2 separate regions of the Homo sapiens genome follow, and region 1 is linked to region 2. The links are contacts of gene promoters, found by promoter capture Hi-C in blood cells and fetal thymus (Javierre and others, 2016). All regions are on one chromosome and are shown on one strand. The core of a region is centred on a gene start or on the middle of the fragment in contact, and the rest is flanking DNA. Distances in the headings are between cores, read along the strand shown. Region 1 overlaps LOC101928438 (a long non-coding RNA gene). Region 2 holds the start of STX17 (syntaxin 17).

The links. Contacts are between HindIII fragments. The CHiCAGO score rates a contact against its expected background, and 5 or more counts as called.
Region 1: a contact is called between a fragment that was not itself captured here and the fragment with the promoter of STX17 in region 2, in 2 of 17 cell types (naive CD4 T cells and total CD8 T cells). The highest score is 6.0, in naive CD4 T cells.

The regions. Positions count from the first base shown.
Region 1 is chr9:99,800,021-99,803,648 of GRCh38, reverse strand. The region is part of intron 2 of LOC101928438 (a long non-coding RNA gene); the gene reads left to right. Among named protein-coding and RNA genes, the nearest start is that of NR4A3, 20 kb to the left of the region's middle. The HindIII fragment of the contact is 1,895 bases long and covers 547-2,441 here.
Region 2 is chr9:99,904,811-99,908,184 of GRCh38, reverse strand. STX17 (syntaxin 17) reads right to left here and starts at 1,531. Exons shown (of 8, transcript NM_017919.3): 1 at 1,479-1,531. It overlaps STX17-DT (STX17 divergent transcript), which reads left to right and starts at 1,584. Exons shown (of 3, transcript NR_038853.1): 1 at 1,584-1,631. RefSeq lists an enhancer at 993-1,232 and a silencer at 1,393-1,792. The HindIII fragment of the contact is 1,410 bases long and covers 1,291-2,700 here.

The DNA of each region.
Region 1 (3,628 bases), core at 245-2,744, 100 kb after region 2:
GCCTACAACTTTTTTCATCTCCAATAATCTTCAGCTCCAGGCCAAAAAAAAGTTGTTCTTGCCCTGCTCACATTAATTGAAATAAGTCAGTGAGATTCCTTCTGCCCACCACCTCACTTCTCACTAGCATGGGGCTCAGCTACCATTAGAGATGTTAGAGTGGGGCTGTTGTGCAGTTCTTCAGACTATTAGTGCTGTATGCTATGTTCTGAGGAGGGTTCGGGCTTTTATCTTCTCAAAAATGTGTAAAATTTTGACTCACTCATACAGCTTTAGATGTTAACAGATAGAAGTATACTGACTGTGTGTGCTAGGCTCTTCCATGTATTATATCAGATGTTGCTTCCAGCCAACCTGAGAAGCTAAGTACTAACATTGTCCCTATTTTACAGAAGCATAAAGAAGTTAAGCAACCCAACCTAAGTTCACACCAAAATTTGAACCCAGGTAGCCTTACTTCATTCAGTGCCCGTGTTCTTAACCATGTCCAATGACAGCCTCAAGCTCATTTGTTTATAAGTAACTCGTTCTTACTTTCTAAAAGCTTTTCTGTTTTCTTTATTTTGAAGCTCAGAAATTAGAAATCTGACTAGGATATATATATAGGTATATGCCCTTTTTCATTTATCCTGTCTGGTACTCAATGAGCCCTTTTGATTTCATAATTCTAGTCTCCTCCTGAGGGAAGTTTTCTTGTATTATGTTTTGATTATTACTTTTTCCATTATGGTCCTTGTTCTCTCTCTGAATGCCTTTTATTTCCAATTAGACCTCCTGGACCTGCTGGTTAGTTCTCTCATCTTTTTATTCAAGAATTCCATTTCTTTTTTTTTTGCTCCAGATAATGTGATACACATTCACCTGCTTTTCCAGATAACAGATTTGTTCTTTGGAGGGTCTCCTGTACTTTTTACTTCCTCAATTGAAATTTAAAATTTATAAATCATGTTTAAAGAATTACCCAATCTATTATTTTGTTTCAGTTATTCCCTTGCATTCAACAGCATATACAAAATAAAATATACAAGTAAACATGGTTTATTTTAGAAATGTGAGACTATTTCAACATTAGGAAATACTAATGTAAGATATCACTCTAATAGATCAAAGGAAAAAAACTTAGAATCATTTTCACAAATACTGCAAAGGTATTTGATAAATCACTACTCATTCTTGATAAAAACCAAAGAAACAAAAAACAGCTCTTGTTAATCCAGGAAATGAAGGCTATTTTCTTAACAGTACAGCCAATATCATAGTTAACTTTGAAAGTTAATTTTGAAATACTTGAGCAACATTCCCTAAGAGTATCTTCAGAACTGTAGATCTGATGTTTATATAAAAAAGGGTATCTTGGTGTATTAGTTAGGGTAAAGCGAGATGTTACAACAAATACCAACTTTTCAGTGGCTTAATAAAATATAAATTTATTTTTCCCTCATGTAATAGTCCACTGCGGATGTTTCTGGTTGGCAGACAGTTGTTTTTTTCTGTATGGTAACTCAGGGACATAGGCTCCTTCCATTATAGGGATCCACCATTCCCTAGGGCCTTGAATTCTTCTGTTTCCAGTGGACAGAATTGCAGAGATAGGGTGGAGAATGCATACTTTCTTCTCAGTTACCTTGGCCTGGATACGACACACATCAGTTCTGTTCACATTCCCACATTCCATTGGCCGGAACTAGATGCGTTACCTCACCTGTCTGCAAGATGTGTGTTCCAGGGGAGGGAAATGGAAAACATTATCTGGCTGGGGAACCACAGGTGTGGTAACAGTCTCATTTGTAGTTGGAAGGAGTAGAAATTAGGAATGCCTTAGTGGAGGACACTGTGTGATATCTGTCAAATTTTAAAACATACATGTTCTTTGACCTCAAAATTCCACTTCCAGCAATTTTTCCTACAGATATACCCACAAATATATACATGTTTACACTTGGAGGATATACCTAGTAATATTGTAATAGTAAAAGATTGGAAGCATTCTGAATGTCCATCAAAGGGGACTGAGTTGGAAACATTCTGAATGTCCATCAAAGGGGACTGAGTAAATTATTGTTTATCCATACATTGAAACACTGCAGCCACTGAGAGGCAGTGATATATGTACTGACTGGGGAGAGAAATGCAAGGTACAGAACCGTGTGTTCACAGCTACCATTTACTTAAAAAGAGAAATATATACATGTATGCTCATATATTCATAGAATATTTATGGAGGGATCACAAGAAACTGGAAGGATCACAAAAAATGTAACAGTGGCTGCTTCTGGTTAAAATTATAAGGTCATGGGTCATGGGATGAGAGAGTCAGGCTTTTACTGTGTCCTCTTTTATACCTTTTGATGTGCACCTATTTAAATATAAAAGTCAGTTGTAGAAGTATAATAAATAACATGGAAAGATGGCTGTAATATATTATTGCCTAAAAACAAGCTTACTGAAAATTATGTACAATATGTTCTCACTTTTATAAATAAATAAAGAAATGGGATATACAGAAATGCAGTGGTTTGTGTTCTTTTTTTTTGCTTATTTGTATTTTTGGATTTTCTATAGTAAACACGTATTACCTTTATAGTTAAAACAATTATAAAATGAAGAAACACAATGAAAACTTTTCTTAGGAGTCCTTTCTGGCTTTGCCATGAAACTTCCTCCATTTCTCTTATTAAGATTAATGGATGACTTATTTTTCCTTCCATGCTGCGTTTTAAACATACTCACAACACTCTAAATTGCATTATCGTGTACACATTTGGCTCATCTACTTTGTGCATTCTTAGTGGACCTGGATCATACCAAATTTCTCCAGGTATCCCTCTCTGTGCCGAAAATAGTGTCTTTCCTATAACAGGTGTGCAGTAAATACTGAATTGGCACTTTAACCAGGGAGCACAATGAGTTCCAACTTACTATTTTTTTAATCTTTTTTTTTTCCCCCCTTTTTCTGGAGAACAGGGCCTCACTATGTTGCTCAGGCAGGTCTTGAACTCCTGGACTCAAGCTATCCTCGTGCCTCTGCCTCCGTAAGTGCTGGGATTACAGGTGTGAGCTACCGTGCCTGGCACAAGGACTGAAGTAGTTGTGTACTTTTCGCCCTTGTGTTATGTAGCCTCTATTCAGTACTATACCCCAAATATCACTGACTTGTTAGCAATGCCATTGGCTTATTAGGTGCAGTTCGAAGTCCCATTGGGCCAAAGGTTTCCTTTCTAAAATGATACTGGTTGCCTCCAGGGATCTGTCTCTGCATCCTTAGTTAGCATGGGTCTGTTATATATGTAGTCAGAAATGAAAAATTTAAAAAGAATAATCAACCTGCTGATGACATGGTCTCTGCTCTTATACAGGTGAATACACTCCTATCTGCTTGGTGTCATAATTTAGAATAGTTTCCTTCTATTTTTCTTTCTCTACTATTTTCCTTTCTCTATTTCTATCCTTTTGCTGTGACCCCTTCTTGTACACACATGGTTGTATTTTTGCTATAGTTTATCAGGGGTCAGTTATGAATAAATGAGAAGAAATACAAATAAAAGAATTGGGAGCTGAACAAATTATTTGCAGCAGTAAGATTTTTAATTGGAAATTGCCTGAGAATAGATTCTCTGCACTTCCATTT
Region 2 (3,374 bases), core at 282-2,781:
TGATCAAGATTAACCTCACGAGCAATAAGTCATATATATCAGCTATGCTCATATGATGAACTGAGAAGGGCACACACACTTTTGTGTTCTTAACAAAAATGTATAACCTTAATCTAATCATGAGAGAACACTGGACAAACCCCATTTGAGGGGCACTCTACAAAATAACTGACCAGCATTCTTCAAAAGTGTAAAGATCAGAAAGAGTATAAAGACAGAAAAAGACTATCAGTGTAAAGACAGGAAAAGACAGAGGAACTGTCACAGACTGGAGGAGACCAAGGACCCAAGACAACTAACTGCAATGTCGGGTCTTAGAGTGGATCCTAGAATAGAAAAAGGACATTAATACAGGAAAAAAAATCACAAGTTAGTAATTCAGTTAATAGTATTATACTAATATTAACTTCTTGCTTTTGATAATTGCGCTATGGTATGTAAAAAATTATTAATGGAGGCAATAGGGAACTCTGTATTACTTTTGAAACTTTTCTGTAATTTTAAAATTATTTCAAAATAAAAAAGTTTTTTAGTATAAGAGGATGTTTCACGTAAGACAGGTAAAAACATTTAGAAGTCAAAGAACTGCCATCGTATTCACTGCATTAATACTTGGAGAGAGGGGTGCCAGGACTGTGCCAGGTGCTTTACAAACTTTATCATGTAGTGCTTACAACTAATATGAGATGGGTACCATAATACTCATGTTTCCCAGTAAGTTACTTAGGAGGTTATTAATAAGTGAAAGACCCCATTTCTCAGGAAACCCAGCCCCCAAAAGTGACGAACACCTTCCATCGGCCCAGAGCTCCCACTTTTCAGGATACTAGTGGCGCCCGATTTCTTCCGGCCCGCCGCTTAATGTTTCTGACTTATGGAAGAGATACCGAATTTGGAGAGAAAAGTCAAAGTAAAGTCTCCTCTCTGAACCTCGGTTAGCTAAAAGGAGGGAGCCAAGGTGTGGGACCTTCTGCCAACCACCTCTGGGTTTGGCGAGCAGGGGCTTCCGGCCTCTCGCTCCCAGTCCTCCGAGCCTCACTACCATCGAGCGTCGCGTCATTCCTCGCAGTGTCACCCACAGCACACCTGGGCCACACACACCAAACGCCCCCACCAGCGAACGGATGCGCGGGTCTGTCCCGGGACCCAGACGCCAGCGACCCTGGCGACCCGGGGCCTACAGCGCGCCAGAGACAGGACGCGCGCCGGAAACTTTTCCACCCCGCGACCCCGGGAGGCCGTCCTGCTCGCATCGTCTGCGGCCTCCCTATACCAGCTTCCAATAAAGCTTCCAAAAACGAAACCAAGCGAGGCTCCGCCACTTCTGAAAAACAGGAGGAGCCACCATGGCGCTCGCACTTCGGATCCAATGCCCTACTTGCCGCCCAGCGCCTCTTGCGCGCGCCACACGGGCGCCAGGCCCACCAAGCCTGTGAGGGCCCGACGCCCCCAAAGGCGGCCTCCAGAGAGCCCCTTACCTCCCGCCGGGGCGCTCGAGGCCGGTCGGTGGGCACGGCGCAGGCGCAGGAGCGACGGGGCGGGGCATCACGAGGGGTGGGCAGGGTTGGGCCCCGCCCCCGCCCCCGCCCCCGCCCCGCAGGGCCCCCAGGCCGGGCGCTGGGGGCGCACAGGTGAGTACAAATGCGGACGCTGCTGAGAACAGCGAAAGCCTTTTTCAAAAGTGATATTGATTTACGTTATGGGGTTGTGACTCGAGCCAAGAGGAGAGAGACGCACAAACGCTCTTTAGGTCTGCTTGTTGTGTTTAAGACAATTCATGCTTGTATGGCCGACTGCATTTCGCAGTTTTCCTGTCCGTTTTCCTCTGTTCTTCCTAGAATTTTATTTGCGGGTTGGGCATGTATTCTTAGCTCTGTTTTGAAACTGAAGCTCAGAAAGGTGGTGCCTCCCCATCCCGTCCCCAAAAGCCCTGTGAAGTGGACAGGGCAGGAGTGCCATCTTAATTGCAACAGGTGTAAAAATTAAAGCTCAGCAAATTGTGGTTTCCTCCAAAAACTGGTGGAGGGCTTAAGGCAAACGTCTTTATCCCGATTTTATAGATTATGACTCTGGGGTTTAACAAAGAGTTTTAAGTGACTCACTCCAGTTCAGCCAGCTTATGGCAGAGCTGGAACTCCAACTGGGTGTCCTAATTTCCTTCCCAAGTTATTCCAGTTAGACCAGCTGCAACCACATGAACAAGCAGGTGGCCGGCTTTGAAGCCTTGTCCAAGTCACAGGTCCTCCTCTCTTCATGGCCTAACTTCCAGATCCAGCCCTTTTAAAAAGATGTCTGTGAATATTCAGATGACGTGCTTAGAATGTATTCACTAATGGCATTGTCTCAGAAGTGATCAGGATGTTCAAACCACAGTTAAGGAAACTGAGTTCTTAGGGTCTTCCAGTAGAGTAGGAGGTAAACAGGGAAGATTAGGGGCCTGTAGATCCTTTAAAAAGCCTTGAAAGACAATTTCTAAAACAAAGCACCAAATCTACCAAGCAATTTGGATTTTCTTTGGGGACATAATGTATACTGATATTTGTTTTACAATGAGCTCCAGAATGTATTTATCAAATTTTGATTCTAAGGAGAAAAATTAAAGTATTAGGCAATACTGTGAGAAAATGTTTTTTATGCAAGGATCAGTGAAATAAGATCTTTTGAAATAAAAGATCATTTGTGTTAAGTTCTGAAAAAGCTTCCTCAGGTACAAAATCAGGAGGTGTGGTACTCAAAGATTCTAAATTTGGACCTGGACTTCTAAGTTGTTATATGTATGTTTGCTGTAAGTTAGGTGTGTCAAAGTAGTAGGATAAACATTTTTTTTTTTTTTTTTTTTTTAGACAGAGTCTTGCTCTTTCGCCCAGGCTGGAGTGCAGTGGCATGATCTCAGCTCACTGCAACCTCCACCTCCCAGATTCAAGCGATTATCCTGTGTCAGCCTCCTGAGTAGCTGGGACTACAGGCGTGTGCCAACATGCCCGGCTAATTTTTTGTATTTTTAATAGAGACAGAGTTTCACCATGTTAGCCAGGATGGTCTTGATCTCCTGACCTCGTGATCCGCCCGCCTCGGCCTCCCAAAGTACTGGGATTACAGGTGTGAGCCACCATGCCCGACCAAAACCTTTTAATCTAACTGTTGGTTAGCTTGATTTATAATCTTTAAATATTCAAACATATGGTGTGTGGACCTCTTTTGTGTACTCTAGGTCATCAAGTTGTTAGGGGCAGGCCTGCTACTACTGGCCGACATTTTCCTGAAGTCCTAACTGAACCCAGCAAGTCCAAACAAAACATTAAGTGTATATGTTGGAAAGAAAATTAAAAAAAATTCTTAGGGTGTTATGATTGATTGCTTTCTTGGAAAATCCA